2 separate regions of the Homo sapiens genome follow, and region 1 is linked to region 2. Evidence: promoter capture Hi-C in human tissues and cell types (Jung and others, 2019). All regions are on one chromosome and are shown on one strand. The core of a region is centred on a gene start or on the middle of the fragment in contact, and the rest is flanking DNA. Distances in the headings are between cores, read along the strand shown.

The links. The method cuts DNA at HindIII sites, captures the fragments that hold promoters and counts their contacts. A contact is called where the count stands out against the background at its distance.
Region 1: a fragment that was not itself captured here is called in contact with the fragment with the promoter of CCL2 in region 2 in 1 of the 25 tissues and cell types used here (mesendoderm cells).

What each region holds. Positions count from the first base shown.
Region 1 is chr17:33,970,905-33,975,636 of GRCh38, reverse strand. The region is part of intron 1 of LOC107985038 (a long non-coding RNA gene); the gene reads left to right. It also overlaps a transcript of ASIC2 not described here. Among named protein-coding and RNA genes, the nearest start is that of LINC01989, 210 kb to the left of the region's middle. The HindIII fragment of the contact is 6,895 bases long and covers 1-4,732 here.
Region 2 is chr17:34,252,713-34,257,666 of GRCh38, reverse strand. CCL2 (C-C motif chemokine ligand 2) reads right to left here and starts at 2,382. Exons shown (of 3, transcript NM_002982.4): 1 at 2,242-2,382; 2 at 1,328-1,445; 3 at 464-945. The coding sequence starts at 2,317. The coding sequence ends at 840. RefSeq lists enhancers at 1,711-2,685, 2,686-3,660, 4,604-4,954. The HindIII fragment of the contact is 9,151 bases long and covers 1-4,442 here.

The DNA.
Region 1 (4,732 bases), core at 352-2,851, 280 kb after region 2:
TTGGTAGGCTTGCCTGGAACTCTCTTTACTATTTATGACCTTGATTCCATGGGAGCATGAGTTATTAAATCCAAAAAATTGATGTGTCAAATTGATTTTCAGGTCCTGGCCCACTGAGACTTGTCAGCATTTTTTTTCTTTTCTGTTCATGTCTTTGGCTCTGACTTTCCTAGAAAACAGATCATGACTTTGGGTTTCCTTAAATGAAAGTGGTTCAGATTGCAGAGGTGGGTCTAGGACAAGGGGTTGAAAGGGGGAGAGAGGAAGATAGAGGGCGAAGATTGAGCCATCTTCCCCTGGAAGAGGACTAGACTGGGCCTCCACCTCAGGAGGCCCAACCCTTTATTTGGGCTCTGATCCCTGCTTCTGTTCAGGCTTTGCCATCCCATATCAGCAAAGGGGCTTCCATCCTGGGGAGGGAGAAAGGATCCACAGGGAAGAACAGGAGACGGTCTCAATTAGGATTAGTGGCCAAAACCAACTGAGGTCAACTTTCAAGCATGATTTCATACATTCATTCATTCAACAAATATTTAGTGAGTGCCTGCCACGTGTCAGACACTATCCTGAGCACTGGCAATATACCAATGAATAAAGCAGACACAAATGTCTGGCCTCAGGGAACTTACATTCTAGTGGGGAGAGATGGCCAACACACCACATAAATAAGTAAATTAGATGATACAATTGTTAAAACATGATAAAGTACTATGGAGAAAATTGAAGCAGGAGAGGAAGACAGGAAAAGCTGAGGGATGAGGGTGGGGCTGCAAGTTTATATAGGGAAACCAGGGAAGGCATCATTTAAAAGATGACATTCGAGTAGACTTGTAGGACTTAGACACAGATGTGAATGGATGGATACTGGGCAATCCACAAAATCAGAACTAAGGCTAAAATAGGTGTGGCCTCACAAAAGAGAGGAATCAGGAACCTCTGAGTATCTAGGATGGAGGAATTCATGGGCACTGTCTTTGTGGCAGGGCTCTATGGATGGATGGATGGATGGATGGATGGATGGATGGATGGATAGATAGGTTCCTATCACCTAACAGCACTCAATTCAGGTCAGTGTCTAGGAAAAGAGAAGCTGGCTGGACTTGCCTAAGTCTCCTGTCCACCTGCCGGGCAGCATACCTTGATGGATACCACCACTGAGACTGCATGCCGCCAGATGGAGGGTGACTGCCCAAGGAAAAATCCAGGGATAGGGCTGGGGTGCCAGGCAGGCAAAGCCAGCTGAGGTTGTACACACATACATACACACACATAAGCACAATGGCTGCTGGAGTAAGACACCAAAGAGAAGTGAGCTCAGAGATCTTTAAATCTGCTTCCTTAACGTTGTAGCTGAAGACACTGAGACTTGGGAATTGGGAGGGAATTACTCATGGTCACCTATTCAGGAAAGGGGAAGTTTGGTAATAGACTGCAGGGCTCCTGACTTGCAAGCCAGACTGCTTTCCACTTCCCAGAGCTTCCAGAGAGCACAGGAGGTTTGAGGAGAAAAAAAAAACCTAAGAAAGCATCTCACAGAATCGTCCCATTTCCCAGCTGAAGAAACTGAAGCCGGGAAGAAGACTGAGTGAATGGGGATTAGTGGACGGAAAAAGGCAGGAAATTTTGGAGGACAGAGTAGAAGGTGGAAAATCAGAACTTTCCTTCCCCTGGACCAGGTGGGAGGATGATGCATGGAGATGTCTTAAGCAAATGTTTCGAGCTCTCCTGGGGTAAGGGGAGTGGGACTGGCAAGGCATCCCTGAGGCCCAGGGCAACCAAGCAGGCCCTGTTTGGGTGTCCTGTGCTCCACAGGAAACACCCCAAGGATCACAGCAAATACGCTTACCCAGAGGAGAACCTGTTTGCAATCTAGGCCAAATCCTATTTGCTTTAATAAGCCTGTGTGTAAACGATGGGCTGTGGCTTATGTCCCATGGCAGCCTGGTGGGGTGAGTGAGCAGGAACAAGCCACTCCTCTCTGTGTCTATATGTTCAGGAGGTCGCTTGATTCAAAGTCAAATACACCCCAGAGTAGAGAGAGAGCTGCGGAGTTCCATTTGGTGTGACACTGTAATTGAAAGTTAGAGCGCTCCTGCCTACCCAATCTTCACTCTGGAATTTGCATCCCTGCCCTGCTGGGCAGTGAGAAAAGCACTCAATTGCCCAAGTCTGGGCCTATTGCTACAGGAGGAAGCATGGTTTGGCCATTCTGCCAGGGCTCTTTAAGCACAGCTTCTATCCTCTCCACCCGCCCCCAACAATGGCAGCTTGCCTCCGCCTGCACCTGAATGGGAAGCTAGGAACCACAGCCCCTCTGTTGATGTCTCCACTGGGTTGTGCTGGCTGCTCTCCCTAGATCCTAAATCCTTGGCTCCTAGCATCTGCTTCTGATCCCTTCAGCTGAATAACCCTTGGCCCTTTGGTAGCTTCTGGGATTTGGACTACAACTCAGAGCTGAGCTCTGTGTGTTCCACCTCAGTCTCTGTGGAGAAGGTTTCTGCTCCTGCTTCCAGCCCAGAAACTCTAGCAGCCAAGCCCAAGAGATGATGCAGAGATTCAGATCATCCCCTCTTTGGGTAGAGATTCCCTCACTGTGGGTGTGCCACATTCAGGGCTGGCCCTAGGCATAACTCTGGTGCTGACCACCTGACCTGGGTTAGTTCTGTCAGCACATCCCTCTTTCAGTCTCAGTCTCTGATTTGCACAGAAGGAAACTGTGACCCAGAGAGGGAGGAAGCTTGGCAAGGTTTGTCTGCATTTGCAGTCTCCTTTTCTCCAGTGCTGGCTGGCTGGGACTCTTTCATTGTCTGCGACGGGGCCCAAGTCCCCACAGTGTGTTATGAGACCTAAAGCTTGTGTTAACACGCTTATTCTTCATCAAAAGTGACCTGTTCTGTGTTCTCTTTTTGAGGATTAGCCATGTGGCAGGAGCTAGTCTTATAAACTAATCCTTAGTAAGGCGTGATGTGTGATCACAGACAACTAATTGAGCTTTTCACACCTTAGCTTGAGGGAGTGGAAGGTGCAAATTTCAAGCAATAAAGGATTTTTGGATTTTTTTGTTTTGTTTTGTTTTTCCAAACAGAGAATGCTTCTTGATGCTCCTTAAAGCATGCTGTATAGTCAGAAACCACATAGCTGGACCAGTCCTACGCAAAGAACTAGCGGACCATTAATCTAAGCCTAGAGATCACTGGAGCTCTGGGCAATACTGACCTTTGTTTGTTTTGTTTTTAAAGAAACAGAAACTACTCTTTTAGAGTTTAGAGCCCACAGAGAGACTGGATGTGAGTATTTTTCTATCGTCCTTCCTGTCATGCATTCAGTAACTAAATCAATCGTCAAATGTATATTGGTCACCTACTGTACATCAAGTTCTCTTTTGGGACCTTTGGGGGATTCATACATGGACAAGGCATGACTCTCCATCCTTAAGACATCATGTGACATGTTTGGTAAGTAAGGTGTATAATGTTGATGACATTGATAATATTAACTTAACATTTATTAGTCTATAGTTTATAGTTGTTCCCAACATTATTCAACCTTTGAAGACTTTGTTTCTTTATCTGTAAGGAGGAGGTGGTGATACCATTAATCCCCCATCCCGCATTGTTGGGAAAATCGCCTGAGGTTACAAATGGGAAAGCACTTAGTAACTGTAAGAACGCTGAGCCTGGTGGTTATTATTATTACTTCTGTTGTTTTTCTCAGTCTCGGGGAAGAATTATTACTAATGTCAACAGAATCACAGCTTCTATTTACAGGAAGACAGGCCAAGAATTTCAATCCCTTGTCCCTCTCCCAATTAAATCATGGATGCAGATTGTTCTAAATCCATCACAAGGTCTGGGTCTGAAGATCCAAGTTTGAGTCCCAGCTCTGTATAATCTTATCAAAGCCTCTTAATCTTTTTGGGTTATAATTTTTTTTTCACAAATACAGATGAAATAGGTAGATTCGTAGGTAGAAAATGTTCTAATTCTGTGTTTGTGTGTCCTTACATGTATATGGGCATGTCCTGACACAATCTTGCATTTCCAAAGAGTTCATTCCAGCAAAAGTCATCCCTTGCTTCTTCCCCACCTCTCTTCTCTTCAGAGGAATGTTCATTATGCATGAATGGGAGGGCAGGGACAGGGATTCACAAACTGTCACTTTCAGGAGCTGGTGTGTGAGCGTATGTTTGTGTATGCATTTGTGTGTGTGCATATGTGTGAAATGTTCTCCTGGTTGCCTTTAGACTTGCCGTTGCTCTTCTCCAGGTGCCAAATATTCTCTCAAGCCTTCTGAAGGTTGCAGCAGGGGCCAGGCCAGAGAACAGAGGTTTCTCTGCTTCTGCTTGGTGTTTTATCGTGTTTTGACCAGGTAGGCTACTGCACTGACAACCCAGGAAACGAAGGCAGGAGAGCTGGTGTGCCGCTAGCACAGCCGGCTTGGAGCCCCACTGTCTTTGGATTCTGTGCTCAGCCGGCTTCTGTATTTGGCTGTGAATCATTTCTGCTGGAGGACTGCGTGCCACTGTGTGCCCTTTGAGTGGTGTGCGCATTGCACACGCATCCTGGAGGGAAGCATAAAGAAATGGGAGTGGAGGAAGCAGCCCAGAGGAGAAATGCAACCCTGTTACGCCCAAGTTTGGCTTCTCAGATTTGATGGATGATAGGTATAGCAAAGGCAGGCTGGCTACCTCTTTTGCAGGACTGAAGGGCGATGAATCTGCTGTCAGCACGAG
Region 2 (4,954 bases), core at 1,133-3,632:
TCATCTTATCTATGGTGATTAACTCTTTCCTTATTTCCTAATACTGGCAGTGTCTGTATTACTCCAGGTTGGGGTATTAATTGGAGAGGTACAGATTGGGGGGTGGGTAGCCCAGTTAGGGGGCAGTTGCAATATGTTAAGGGAAGAATTGCATGCAGGGGTCAGGGTCTGTGAGAAAAGGAATGGGGGTTGGGCTCTTGCTAAATGGGTGACCAGGGTCATTGGACTCTGGGCTGCTTATGTTGAAGACTGGAAGGGTGGTGCTTTAATGCCTAACTGGCCTGCCATAAAGATTCTTCTACGGAGACTCAGAGGAGACCACCCAGTGGAGAAGACCGGGGCCAATCCACTTTCCCATTCCTTCAAAATGTAAGCCCCACCCTCTGAAATCATGTTCCTTTGTCACCACCAAGCTCATACTCTCAGCTTTGTAATTTCCTTCAAGAAAACACTGGAAGTCAGGTTTTGTACAAAAATATATTTATTTGGTGTAATAGTTACAAAATATTCATTTCCACAATAATATTTTAGCAATGCATTGGAATGTTAAAAAAAATTCTTTGTATTAATGATTCTTGCAAAGACCCTCAAAACATCCCAGGGGTAGAACTGTGGTTCAAGAGGAAAAGCAATTTCCCCAAGTCTCTGTATCTAAAAAACACTAGTACCATGAAAGATAAACTTAAAACATCAATAACTTAAATAAGAATTAACATTACTTAAGGCATAATGTTTCACATCAACAAACAAAATTCATTATAATAAAATAAAACAGGGTGTCTGGGGAAAGCTAGGGGAAAATAAGTTAGCTGCAGATTCTTGGGTTGTGGAGTGAGTGTTCAAGTCTTCGGAGTTTGGGTTTGCTTGTCCAGGTGGTCCATGGAATCCTGAACCCACTTCTGCTTGGGGTCAGCACAGATCTCCTTGGCCACAATGGTCTTGAAGCTGTGGGGAGGGAGGACAGAGTTAGATGAAGTTCCTTTGCAGTTTTGGTCTAGAAGTGCAGCCCATTCTGCACCAAAGGGCTGCCATGGGAGCTAGAGGAGGAACGCAGGTGGAAGGAGGGAACCCAGGGCAAACTGCTCCTATAGGTGTCCAGGTGGAGCCATCCTGACTTCAAGCTAAAGAAATTGGGGTGTTCTGAATAGGCACCCAGGTGGAGAGTGATGTTGGGGTTCACTTTTTCCCTTGGTGCCTCAGTTTTCCCATTGGGAACCTTTGTACATTAAGTTAAATAGTGCACTCTCTGACTCTAGGTTTATGAGGCTTGTCCCTTGCTCCACAAGGAAGAACTTCAGGCCAGGGAAGGTTGGTGTGCTGAACTCACATCACAGCTTCTTTGGGACACTTGCTGCTGGTGATTCTTCTATAGCTCGCGAGCCTCTGCACTGAGATCTTCCTATTGGTGAAGTTATAACAGCAGGTGACTGGGGCATTGATTGCATCTGGAAAATAAACCACAAAGAAAAAGCATTTTAGGATGAACTGGATTATTCTGATCTTAAGAGCAGAAAAGAGTCATGAGGAAAAAGCAAAAGGCAGGCAGGAGAAGACAAAGAGCTCATTAAATCCCAGTGCTTCTGCCTATACCTCAGAGCTAGAATGTGATCTTTGACCCAATGACTCAGTTTCCTATGCTGTAAAATGGGTATATAACATTGATAATGGACAGAGAGAAGGAGGAGCTGTTAAAGCTAGATAATGCCTACAAGTGTCATTAAGACGGACCAATAATCCAGATGATCAGCACCAGGGAAGATCAGCTGGGGAGCCCCACTATGAGCCTCCTTTTAGACTCTGAATAGGCTATGCCTGGTCATGAGTTTCCCTGATACTCATTACCTCTGCAGAGTCACCGTCTCTGGAAGCTAAGGTGAATGAAGCACAGACCAGATTCTGGGTCTCCAGCGTGTCTGGAAACAGCCTACACACCCACCCTCTCTTTGATTACCCTGATCCCCAAACTCTGCTGGAAGCAGCTGGGGGAGTAACTGCGCTGAGTGTGTTCCCAGAGCTGGAATCCTGGAAGGAGCTGGATTTGGGGTTCACAGCTGGAATTCTAGTTCAGGCTCTGCCGAGCAGCAGCTGTGTGGTTGGGCTCACCCCTTGTCCTTTTCTGAGTCACCTTATCTTGGAAAAGTAGCGTTAAAGCAAGACTGTGGGTACCACGTCTGCTTGGATGGTCCATGATAACTCAGAGAGAAGACAATGTGGTTCAAGGAGAAGAAGAGGGGGCCTTACCTGGCTGAGCGAGCCCTTGGGGAATGAAGGTGGCTGCTATGAGCAGCAGGCACAGAAGGGCGGCAGAGACTTTCATGCTGGAGGCGAGAGTGCGAGCTTCAGTTTGAGAATTGGATGTTTCTGGGTTAGTCTCAGCCTCTCGGTTCCTCTGGCTGCTGTCTCTGCCTCTTATTGAAAGCGGGCAGAGGGAGAGAGGGCGGAGTCAAGCAGGAGGAGGGATCTTCCATGAGTGATAAGTGGGCTGTTAAATCTGCTGAGCAAATGCAGCATCCTGTGGATTTCCAGGAAGTAGGAAAGGGAAGCAGGGGGTCAGGACGAGACACTTTTTCCATTCACTGCTGAGACCAAATGAGCAAATGGGGAGGATGGGGTGCCATTAAGCCCAGACTGACCACAGATGTGAACTAAGAGGGTTATTTTTAAGGATTCTGCTTTCTCTGAAGCGAAAACTGCAGAAAAGGAAGGAAGCGAGGAAACTAGATGAAAGCATGTCAGGCTCGCTGCCAGCTTACCTTCAGGCCACATTCCAAGGGGCCTCCCAGCCAGGAAGGAGCTCTCAAGCTTTGGCCGGCTCCCTGACAATGCATTAAATCCATTTGCTCATTCAAATGCAGAATAGTAGCATCATAGAAGCCTAGCAGAACTGTAGGATTGTGTAAACATTGAACTGAATTCTAAGAGTTCTAGGGTTTCAGACTTGGACAAAGGCATAGACAGCATGTAGTGCTGCAGAAGAAATGCCAGTGTCATACTCACAGAGTGCTTACTCTGCCAGGAATATTCTCAGACCTTTACAAATATTAACTCTGTAAATTCCCCAACTTTATCTAGTAGGGATTGCTAATTTTCATGTTATAGATCAGGCAACTGAGGCACAGAAGGGTTAAATAGCCTGCTCAAGGTCCCCTCGAGCACAGAACCCAGGCAGCCCTGTCCCCAGTGGGCTGCCACCTCTCTGACATACTGCTGGAAGGAAACGTGTACAAGTCCTCCAACTAGTTGCCTGCTTGGGTCCTCTCTCTGTCCTCAGCATCTTCCAAATGGGCAGACAGCTAAAGGAGAATCTAGAAACATTCCTCATGGCTAAGTCATTATGAGTTAGGAGGCTGTTGCTAGCATAGCAGGCAGCAGTGGACAAGAAGTTCATCCCTGGTTATGGCAGCTATTCTCCTGGCTTCCTTCTTAATTTCCAAGGGACATGAGTAAGCAGTGGAGGAGTATTTCGGGAATTGGAAAGCCTGACTTCATTCCTCAGTTGTGCCTTAGATTTCCTCAGAAACTACAGAAGCACACTGATAAAAACCCAAAGACCTTAGAATTCATTTCAGTGAACTGTTGTCTCTTACAAATATGATAGGAGTACTTGAGGCATGTTAATGGCTGGGCTGAGTTTAAAATTCTGATCTCTCGATTCTCCTAGCCCACTGCCTCCTCCTTCTGAGCCTTGCGGTGCCCTTGCCCAATGGGCATACAAAGACTAGTGACTTCTTTCATAAAGGGTCACTGAGGCAATGTCTATAAATGCATGGGGTTTCTTGAAAGAAAACACTTTTCACTACACTTGTAAAAAGAAACGGGTTGTATTCAACAAATGACTGTTTTATTTCTAGTAAGTGGTCAGTAATGGCATTGTTGAGTGCATTCAGGGAGTCAGGTATGGTGCTGACATACTTTCCAGCGCTGCCTGCCCAGTCCTCCAACCAACCCAGCTTTCGTTAGGTTAAAACTGAAGTTATTTGTCCAGTAACTCAGACAGAATAGTAGATGTGCTGAGACTCCCACCCAGGATGTTTCCATTCCAGAATCTCTTCTTCCTGGGACTAGACTTGATGTCTCATGATGGATATTGGTTTCCTGGAGAATCCCAGAGCAGAGACTCTATGGAGTGGCCATTTCAGACTCTGGTGGAATTACAAAAAGCAGGATGAAGAGAGAACAAATCAACTCGAGCCCTGCTTTGCTTGTGCCTCTTGAGGAGCCTTATTCTTGTTCTGCCTGAATCTCACTAGTTACTCCTTTTCTCCCCAACCAGTGTTGAAACTTCTCTGTGTTTGTCTCAGTCCTCTGCTCATGCCTCAATCCATTCTTATCCAATGAATAAAATGTTTCCAGGACTAGAGACTGTGCAACTTTGTGTAGGAATTTCTTCCTAGGCCATCTCACCTCATCTTCCAAGAAGTTTTCCTCATATCAGGGGAAACCTCTCTCTAATCAGTTAGTGCATCCTTTACCATGAACTTGGTGGACCGCATTCAATTTCCCTTTATAATCCAGTCATGCTTCGGGTTTTCTCTAGGTTAACAAGCTGAAAGATGCTGAGATCTTTAAATAAGTCTCTCCTGGCTTAGTCATATCAGCATCACTCATAGAATCCCAGAATCAATGGGCTTATAGACATCCTGTGGCATGACCACTTGTTTTTATCTGATAAAGCCACAATCCAGAGAAGGAGACCAATTAGCCCATGGTCACAGAGAAAAACTTCCCAGCTTTGCTGGCTGAGTGTTCACATAGGCTTCTGAGTGTTGGAAGCATGTCTCTACTTCAGGAAGGAGTTGTCATCTCTGGAAAGTGACTTGGCCTTTGCATATATCAGACAGTAAACACAGGGAAGGTGAAGGGTATGAATCAGAAAAGAAAGTCTTCTGGAAAGTGATAGCTGTCTGCCTCCCACTTCTGCTCTGTCAAGAAAAGATGCCCTCCCCCGCTGGGA